2 separate regions of the Homo sapiens genome follow, and region 2 is linked to region 1. Evidence: promoter capture Hi-C in 16 types of primary human blood cells and fetal thymus (Javierre and others, 2016). All regions are on one chromosome and are shown on one strand. Each heading gives the region's core, a stretch centred on a gene start or on the middle of the fragment in contact. The rest is flanking DNA. Distances are from core to core; before and after follow the strand shown. Region 1 holds the start of CEP290 (centrosomal protein 290). Region 2 holds the start of EEA1 (early endosome antigen 1).

What was found. The method cuts DNA at HindIII sites, captures the fragments that hold promoters and counts their contacts. A CHiCAGO score of 5 or more calls a contact.
Region 2: a fragment that was not itself captured here is called in contact with the fragment with the promoter of CEP290 in region 1 in 1 of 17 cell types (total CD4 T cells); the score reaches 6.2 in total CD4 T cells.

The regions. Positions count from the first base shown.
Region 1 is chr12:88,140,838-88,145,700 of GRCh38, forward strand. CEP290 (centrosomal protein 290) reads right to left here and starts at 1,251. Exons shown (of 54, transcript NM_025114.4): 1 at 1,063-1,251; 2 at 369-497; 3 at 119-196. The coding sequence starts at 470. TMTC3 (transmembrane O-mannosyltransferase targeting cadherins 3) reads left to right here and starts at 1,470. Exons shown (of 14, transcript NM_181783.4): 1 at 1,470-1,650. RefSeq lists enhancers at 1,091-1,530, 1,337-1,840. The HindIII fragment of the contact is 8,380 bases long and covers 1-1,713 here.
Region 2 is chr12:92,924,862-92,929,947 of GRCh38, forward strand. It overlaps EEA1 (early endosome antigen 1), which reads right to left and starts at 4,434. Exons shown (of 29, transcript NM_003566.4): 1 at 4,182-4,434. The coding sequence starts at 4,205. RefSeq lists an enhancer at 2,594-2,723 and a silencer at 3,824-4,903. The HindIII fragment of the contact is 933 bases long and covers 2,564-3,496 here.

The sequences.
Region 1 (4,863 bases), core at 1-2,500:
TTTTTAGTGGTGATGTAGATATTACCAGGTATTTTCACAAAGATTACCTTATATAAGAACAGATTTTTATAGTTCCACTAATAGCCAAACCTATAGTTAAAACCTACTACATACAAACCTTCATTAGTGACTGAGTAATTCTGAAAAGGTGTATCACATTTTCTTGCTTTTCACTTTTTAGCTCATTTACTTCCACCTAAGTAAACAGAAAAGCAACTGTTTTATATTTTATAACCTTCAAGCAAAATATAAGAACACTTCCAGATTGTGACAATTATAGTTGTCCCTGAAAAAAATAAATTCATATTTTATTAATAAATTAATCATAAGTTAATGTATATATCTATTATTATTGACCAATTAAGCACCTTGGATAAGGAAATCAATAAATTATCTGCCAGTTCTTCTTGACGGGGCAGGTCATCTGGGTCAACTTTCATTATTTCTTTCCAGTTTATATTAGGTGGCATCTTGAATTCTTTCACTGTGCTCCACCTCTGTAACAAAACAGGTGTATATTAGCATTTTCAAGGTACACAGTATTATTGGTTTTCTAGCACCTTACATTTTTTGCAGATTATTTCATTATAACTTTCTGATGTTAGCAAAACAGACAATTGGGCCACAAAATAGACAAGTGGGCAAAATAGCCTTGATCAAAAATAGCAGTCGGCACAAACTGTCAGAGTGTCCCGGCTAAATAAAATGTGACGGCTTCCTTGCTAACACTAATCTAAGTTAATACTTAAGATTTCTGGATCCCTTCCTCCACACCCCTACCCACAATGCGCGCGAACACCCTAATCCTGGCAAGCGCGAGGGTCTGTGGAAGGCCGACAATCATCCCTGATTTGGAGAAACAGAATTGGGGCTGAAAAAAAACGCAGAAATTAACATTTGGAATGAGTGAAGTTGTGCGGCGGAAACTGGAACCGAAGCAAGGCAGTATTAGGGACCCGAGGCTGGAAGGGCGGGGTAGCTATGCTGTGGCACACGGGCCCTCAGGCTAAAGAACCTGAGCGTGGAGTGACTCGCTAATCCTGCTTACAAGGATCCACCCACCTAGACCAAGCCTGGCAACCAGCGGAGGCCTCTCACTACCGCAACCACCAAGCTGGACCCGGCCGCGGGCCCTGACAGATCCCTATCGCGGTTCCACGCGGACTCTGGGTCCAGCCAAATGGTCCCGAGCAAGCCAAAGCGGCAGCGGCTGCTAGGCGACACCATCCCCAACTCCGCCAAGGCCAGAATAAGATCCCGGATGCCAGGAGAGCCTACAGTTCACGACCGTGGGTGATGCTTTACGTTTAGATTCTCCGCCGGAGTCCCAGAGCTCGGTGTTCAGGATGATGAGAAGGCGTGGAACGAGGACTTCAAATCCCAGAGTGCAGTTCTGCCTGAGGCTTCTGCATGCTGGGAACTGAAGTCCCTGAGAAGAGGAGGTAAGGCGCTCCCGGCATGCAACGCGTAAGACTGCGACGGTACCGGGGCGGCGGGGAAGGACCGAGAGGCGGGAGGAGCAGCGGCTCAGGCGCCTGCAAACTGGTGGCCTGAACGAGGTAGACCATGACTGTGGTTTCAGTGGCGTCACTCGCTGGGCTGCTCTTCCTGAGGTTTTCCTAAGCCATCCCCTGGCGGAACCGCCCCCAGGTGAGGTCGAGCTGTCGGTCAGCATATTGGGAGGAATTGAGGGGAGCAGTCCTGGGTTAGAGAAGCTTCTGCTATTGGGGCCGTAGGGCCTGGTCCCATTCTGAAAAAGTGGGAACACCCTGCCTTCTCTTCAGGCGTTTGCAAGCGGCGTCCAGGGTAGTGCCTTCTGTAAGAAGGAAAAAACAAAAAGTTTTAGCCTTGTTTAGTATCAGAATCTGTCTTGATAGTTAGAGTGAGAGCCGCGCAGCCGTGATCCTCGTTTGGGGGCGAGCGAAGAATTGACAAGAGGTCTCGGCATCCCGACCCCGCCCGCCTTACCTGTAGCACCATTCCTTTCGCGGATCGTGGGGCTTGATGGTTGTGGAGCTAGTATAAAGTCAAGGCTCTAGAGAGGAGAGGTTAGTACTTGTCCGGACCACTGCCGGGGGTGGAGAGAGAAGGGATCCAAGGACTCACCTGTACTATTGTTGCCACTTGCTTGGTTACCTAGGGTGCCCTTCCATGAAAGCGCCTTCTCTGGTGTTTACCACTCTTACTCGTGCAAGTTTTGCTCATCCTGCTCGTCTGCTCACAATCATGCTGGAGTATGATACATCTCTACCTAACTTTCCTAAGAAGCTGTAGACTTAAATCTAAATGACATTTCCAACTATCTGGACCAGTGCTTTGTCTTTTTTTTTTTTTAAACGCTGCTTTAAAAAAAAAATTACTGTACTTGACAGTAAATTTTCCTTTCGAAAATAAGTAATGAGTTTCTTTTTAAACCCCCAATTTGGGTAAAATAAGTAGCTCAGTACAAAATAAAAAGATACTGATTTTGTGAGATGAATTTTAAAGACATTAGTTAGATTTATAGGAATGACAATTTTACTACTTTTCTGAAAGATTATATGCCAAATACTATTCATTATCTTGTTTATTCTTCCTTACAATCCAGTGAAATAGGTGCTTACATTGTCCTCATTTTCCATCTGAGTTAAGAAACTGAGGCTTGGAGAAGCTAAGTAACTTAAATAGTGTGATTGAACACAGATCTCTCTGGCTGGAGGACATATTCTTAACTTCTATACACCTCCTCAGACATTCTGGGAAACCAATATTTGTGAAGTGCTTGTTCCTCAATCTTGCTATTTTTATTAAATGTTATATTTTAATTTTGTAAGTGTTTACTCAATAATTTGAATTAAACATTCTTCATGTTCAGTGTTCTTAATTCATAATTTAACATGGGATGGTGTTTCTGGAAAGGTGTTCTGATCTGGACCCCAGGAGAGGGCTCCTGGATCTCGCCAAGAAAGAATTGGAGGTGCATACACCCCCATTGGAGGTGGTAGACTAAGGATTGTTATAGTTATTTCTTGATTATATGCTAAACAAGGGGTGGGTTATTCATGAGTTTTCTGGGAAGAGGGTAGGCCATTCCTAGATCTGAGTGTTCCTCCCCTTTTTAGACTATATAGAGTAACTTCTTCACATTGCCATGGCATCTGTAAACTGTCATAGCACTGGTGGGAGTGTCTTTTAGGATGCTAATGCATTATAATTAGTGTATAATGAGCAGTGAGAACGAGCAGACGTCCCACCTTTCTCGCCATCTTGGATTTGGTGGGATTTGGCTGGCTTCTTTACTGCATGCTGTTTTATCAGCAAAGTCTTTATGATCAGTATCTTGTGCCCACCTCCTATCTCATCCTGTGACTTAGAATGACTGACAGACATCCTGAGAATGCAGCCCAGTAGGTCTCACCCTTATTTTACCCAGCCCCTATTCAAGATGGAGTTGTTGTGATTCAAATACCTCTGACAATGGTAGGAATGAAATTTAATAGTTACTGAGCACATGTTATGTCATACACTATGCTGACTACTGCGTGTTTGTTTTCATAATAGAAGTCTGTTTTCTCTAACACCTTTTCTTCTGTTTTTTTTTTCATTCGTTATAACTTATTTTTATGTATTCACTTACAAGTTTCGTTTGTCTGTATTACTCTTTTCTACCCTTCTGCCACCACCCTCTTGCTCACATTCATAAACTCAAGGTGCCTGGTCTCTAATGGTAAATTTTATTCTAATTTTTCAGAAGTGAGAACAAGTTCATAGAAGTTAAGTAATAATTGATGAAGCTAAGATTGTAACCTAGATCTCAGTGACAATTGTAACTAAAAGCAAAATCTTACCTAAATTTTATTCTTTAACTCATTCTAACAGTATTTTTTATCCTGTTTCCTGTGCTAGGCACTGGGGATACAGCAGTGAACAAGTCAGCTCTGGCTTGAACAAGTCAACTAAGTTTTTATGCATTGTCGTCTGTACCTAAGTGTGAGTCAGGAAATTTAACTCAGGTTCTAGTTCAATAACTCACTGTATATTTTTGAGGAAAATTGGCAAAACTATTATTTTTCGTCAGATTTTCTGCACCTGTCAGTTTTCATCAAGAAATGGGACTTATGTGACAATGTTGTAAGTGGCCTTGTTATAAGAACACTTGTCTGGACCTGCCTTCTTTCTGCCCTAGGCTTTTGTGAACAGTTTTATCTGACCAAAATCACTTCACAAGAAGGCCTCACCTTTTATTATTGCTTACCTTTGTTCTCTGTAGCAATGAATTTATATTCCTTGGATGTTACTTCTAGTTCCTTTTTGCTGACTTACCAAGAAAAGTCATAGTAGCTTACTTCTCCGATCTCTAAAACAAAGCATGGCCATTTTGTATCCATTGTGTGTCCTAAACATTTTGTTTTGCCTTATCTTCATGGCAAATTAAGCCATGGTTAATGGCTTAATTCACACTGACTCCCTACTGATCTTTCCAGTTTCCTCATGTTGAAGGAAGACAAGTATCTGCTTGCTGCACACTCATTCTTGTCCATGAAATTAAGGCAAAACAATTTGCCTTAATACAATTTACAGTTTTATTGAAGGGATTGTATTTAGTTTTGTATATCTATAATGTAGCTCATGAGAAGTCTTTGTGAACCAAAAAGTGTCTAAGACGGGTCTCAATCAATTTAGAAGTTTATTTTGCCAAGGTTAGGGACATGCCGAAAAGAAATAAACACTGAATCACAGAAACAGTCTGTAGTCTCTTCCTTTCTCTAAGATGATTTTGAGGGCTTCAGTATTTAAAGGGGAAAAATCCATTGGAAGAGAAAAAGGGTAGATATGGTAATCTATGTGTTGCAAGAGAAAAAGAGCAGAGAGGGAAATAGATAT
Region 2 (5,086 bases), core at 1,780-4,279, 4.8 Mb after region 1:
AAAAACTACTCAAAAAGAAAATCATTCCATTAGCTGTCACTTTTTAAAATTCACTTCAATAAATTAGCAATACTTTCATCAAACTTAGATGGGCAACTAATCTGGGAAGCCTTCCCAACATCTAAAACCAGGGCCCTCTTGCTGGGTGTTCTTGGGGCATCCTGAGTTTGTCCTTCCTAGAACTCATTCAAGAGTATAGTTGTATGAATCTCTGAACAATTCCTCTCTCTTCCACTGGACGCTAAACTCCACAAAAAATTCATGACTACTTTACCCATCATTGTCTGCACAGCACACAGTTGGCCCACAAAAGATGTCTCAAAAAAAAAAAAAAAAACACTAATCACAGTTTTTTTGTTTTGTTTTGTTTTGTTTTTAACACAGGGTCTCACTCTGTTGCTGGAGTGCAGTGGCACGATCTTGGCTCACTGCAACCTCTGCCTCCCAGGTTCAAGCAATTCTCCCACCTCAGTCTCCCAAGTAGTTGGGACTACAGGCGTGCACCACGATGCCCGGCTAATTTTTGTATTTTTTGGTAGTGACGGGGTTTCACCACATTGACCAAGCTGGTCTCGAACTCCTGATCTCAGTGATCTGCACGCCTCGGCTTCCCAAAGTGATGGAATTACAGGCATGAGCCACTAAGCCAGCCCACAGTAAGTTATAATACTTAAGAAAGAAATGGCAACAAGGTTTACAAGCTGCCTAAGGTACTAAACGTTGATTAAATTTCTAACCATCAAGTACTTTAAATTCATGTTTTTCTTTGAAGGACTATTAAGTAAAATATTCAATACATACATATTGGAGCTACTTCACTTTGGTTTTGTTTTGAGGTTTTTTTGTTTTTGTTTTCCAGCTTCTTTCAAGCCTCAGAGAAACACCTTAGTAAGCTAATGAAAAAGGAGGAGCAGGAGGAGGGACAAAAGCAGGAGAACCAGAAACCAAATTTCCGTAAAGTATCCTGAGACTTATTGATGATGTTCAAACACTTTGAGTTCTAATTGATGGTAAGCAGTTTGTCTGTTTCTTCTTTTAAAAAATGCTATTTAAAGGAAACTATTCAGAAGAAAATAAGAATAGTTAAAATGAAAAGTTCATCTAAAAACAAAATGCTAAAGGAATGCCACATAATTTTTTTTTTTTTTTTAGACGGAGTTCCGGTCTTGTTGCTCAGGCTGGAGTGCAATGGAGCAATCTCAGCTCACTGCAATCTCCACCTCCCGGGTTCAAGTGATTCTCCTACCTCAGCCTCCTGAGTCGCTGGGATTATAGGCATGCACCACCACTCCCGGCTAATTTTGTATTTTTAGTAGAGTCAGGGTTTCTCCATGTTGGTCAGGCTGGTCTCGAACTCCCGACCTCAGGTGATCCGCCCGTCTCGGCCTCCCAAAGTGCTGGGATTACAGGAATGAGCCACTGCACCCAGCCAAGGAATGCCACATAATTTCAAAGCACAGAGTCCATTTCAAATAAATCTCTAAATTAACAATAGCTTTAATCTTATAGCTTAATATCTGTGCTGAGAAATAAGATTAGCAGGGAGGGGTAAAATAGGTTGCCATGTTACACAATTTAAAGATTCAAGTTATACTTGTTGGTAAATACCACTTGTAGAGTTAATAAAATATATATTCTACCTTCTAAACTAGTAAATCACCAGATTTAAGACATTTATCAAAATGTCCCTATTAAATACTCAGCATTAACACTGACCCAACTACAAGATAAAAGCTGAACTCCTTCAAAGGGACTCTTACGTCCTCTCACAATTTGGTCTCTAGCCACCACGGTAGCTTCATCTCTTACTAATTGCTACAGACCATCTCACTTCCTAAGCTTCATTGTTCACACTCCTCACAGTACTACCTGCGCCTTTTATGACTCCATCTCTTTGCATTTGCTGTTCCCTCTGCCTGACATGCCCTTCCCTCTTCTGAGCTGTGAATATGCCCCCGTCCCTGAAGCTTTTCCTAATTGCCCTCACCTCCCACAGAGTGCCTCCTGGGTCCTCTGTCCTCTTCATTATTCTATTACATAGCACTGTCATTACTTTTAAATGTTCACCTCCCAAACAGCCTGTGAGTTCTAAAGGGAGGACCCACAGCTTAATCAACTGTTTCCTACCCCTTAGCATGAAGCCTGGCATTTACTGAAACTCAATATAAATACACTGAATAAAAGAAAATTAAGTACTTAACTGTGAGAAACACTTCAAACTTTCCTACTAAAGAGTTAATGCATTTAACACAGTGATTCTCAACCAGAGGCAATTTTGCCCCTAGGGGACATTTGGTAAAATCTGGAGCTATTTTTGGTTGTCACAAGGGGGAAGGGATATAGGGGAATGCTACTGGCATCTAGTGGGGGTAGATGCCAGGGATGCTGCTAACATCTTACAAGGCACAGGGCAGCCTCCCACAACGCAGAATTATCCAGTCACAAATGCCAATAGCGCCGACGTTAAGAAACTCAGTTGTCAACTGACTTATTCAGAAGTGATGATTCAATATCACATCTCTGCAATAACCACAATCAATTTCACTTTTGTAGTTTCAACAGAAGCTTCTTTAACAGTTGATAGGTATGCACCAACATTAAAAATGATCTTCATATAATCTCGATGTTTAACTTTAAACCAAGATTACTAGAAAGCATCCCATATTTCTGAAAACCAATCTATAACTACAGCTGAGCTACCCTTAAACCAGTAAACACTTTTATTTGTAAACTTCAAAGCAAACCACAGGCAAACTAATTTTCACTTGCAGAACTATGACAGAAACACAATCTGAAACATGAGGTAATCAGTTCCTCCAGGTCTGATAAAAGAAAAATCTCCTAAAGCCTGAAAGTAAATCATGCACAGATGTCTTTACTGCTGAACTAAGGAAGTGATGGGGAAAGTAAAGGACATGCCCTTGTTACTGCCAAAATCATCGCTTACCGGGATTTCAAAATTCACAAAACACTGCAAAATACAATTAAATGTCAACACAGGTTGTCAGATAAAGAAGTTAACTATTTCTCCCTCTAATAACTGACCAAGTTTCACATGACTTCATTCTTTCAGGAGAAAGCTAGGCAGAAGCAAGAGCACTCCCTTCCTATCTACTGGATGACTCAACTCTCTTCCGCACATTCCTCGGCTGAATCCTACAAATTCACTAATTTCTTTTGTCCTTTGAACTAGTTATCCTACTCCCTCGGTAAAGAACTAATAGGCTCGGCACCTACTTTTCAATCATTTACATTTTGTTACACCCTATCAGCCTCAAAAAGAAAAGAAAAAAGCTATACCAAAAAAAAAAAACAAATTTAAGTTGACAGGTACAATAACTCTTACAGGAAAAGAGATGTGAATTATGTTATTCTAGTAACTGATTCTTAAATGATACACCTACAGTTTTCTAATGCTCTAATCTTTCTATCCTCAAGGTTTTCCAGATTTCAGAGACAGCACAGGCAGAAACTAAGTGTATATACCACTTGATCAAGCTTACTGCGGATTTATTCTTGGATAGCTAAAATAAGGTAGTGGGGCTTGCACAGAAAACATATTTTTAATTAAAAAAAAAGTTTCCAACAGTGAGTAACATCTTCCTTCTCGGCTGACTGTGCCAGTGTCAGTCCCACGCCTGGGCCCAGGCTAGGCCGGGGCTCACCACACCACCCTCCACTGTGGTCCAAAGGAGAAAGCAGGGCCGTGTGTGGCAGGTGCGCATCGTGTCAAATTGGGGGGCACGGGGAGTGCGGCGGGTGGGGAAAGGCGAAGCAAGCCGCCCGAATCTCCCATGGGGCGTTCTCCAGCCCGGCAGGCGGCGGCTGGCCCGTCCCACGGGCACCAACTCTCCATTTTCACTCCCACTCAGGGTTCCCGGGAGGAACGCGCCGGCACCACACCCTCCAGCTCGCAGCCCGCTCGCACACACGGAGCCCCGCGCCGGAGCGGGCGCCAGGCCTGGACGCGCGGGGCCACCAGGGCTCTGCCTGCCGCCCCGCCGCGCCGGCCCCACCCGCCCTCCCCGCCCCCGGGCCGGGCGACCGAGGCCTAAGCGCCTGCCGGGCTGTGGGGCCTAGGGAAGGAAGGAGCCCGCGCTGAGGAGGGGCGCCCGCGCCGCGGCCCCGAGCTCCGGCTGTCCCGCTCACGTGCTGCCAGAAAGACGGTTTCACTCTCTTACCCTCTGTAAAATCCTCCTTAACATGGTTTAACCACCACCCGGCGCCGCCGCGGTGACTCTCCAGACCCTGCGCGGGGCCACTCACTACTCGGGGTGCGCGGGCGGGAGGGACTGGGCCGGGAGGGGACCGGGAAGGAGGTCGGGGCGAGGCGGTGGCGACGGCCGCTCGGGCGGCCCCGACTTCCCCACAGGCGGCGAGAGGGAGCACGCGAGAGAGAGCGAGCGAACGACTAGGCAGCCTGCGAGCGCCTCCAGCCCGCCCGCCGGGCAGCCCCCGTAACTGACAGATGGGCGGGCCCGCCCGCGGCCGCCGGGGGGCGGGGCGGTGGCGGGCCCGCCCCTCGCCTGTCCATTCGCGGGAGGCGGGGCTGAAGGGGGCCGGTCCAGGCCAGCGACCAATCGGAAGCGGTGGCAACGTGGGCGGCTGCGTGACAGACAGGCGGCAGGACGCTGTCGCCGCAGCTTCTTCCGGCTAGCTGGGGGACGCCGAGGCTGCGGAGTGCACGCCTGGGCTCCGTCAGAGGGCCGCGCCCGCGCGACGACCGCGTGCCCGCTAGTGGGAGGCGGGCGAGGACCCCTGGGGGTGTCCCTCCCTGACCCAGGCGGGAGGAGGGGACGCCTTAGGCTGTTTTGTAAAATGTGTCGGTGTGACCCTTCCGGCGATGGCTCCTGACTCGACGTGGTATTGAGCCTGAGCTATATGCTAGTTTCTGCTGGAAACGCTGACTCTGCCTCTTAGCCCCTGGGTTGAAGCCGACTAGAGAATCTCAGACGTGCTTAACCGGTCTGTTGGGCTTCCCTGCCCTTTTCCAGTCCCAGGTTTCCTTTCCCTGCTCCCTTCCTGCTTCTAATTTCAGCCAAAGAGAAAGCAAAGATTTAGAAAAGAAGGGTAGGAAGAAGCTGGA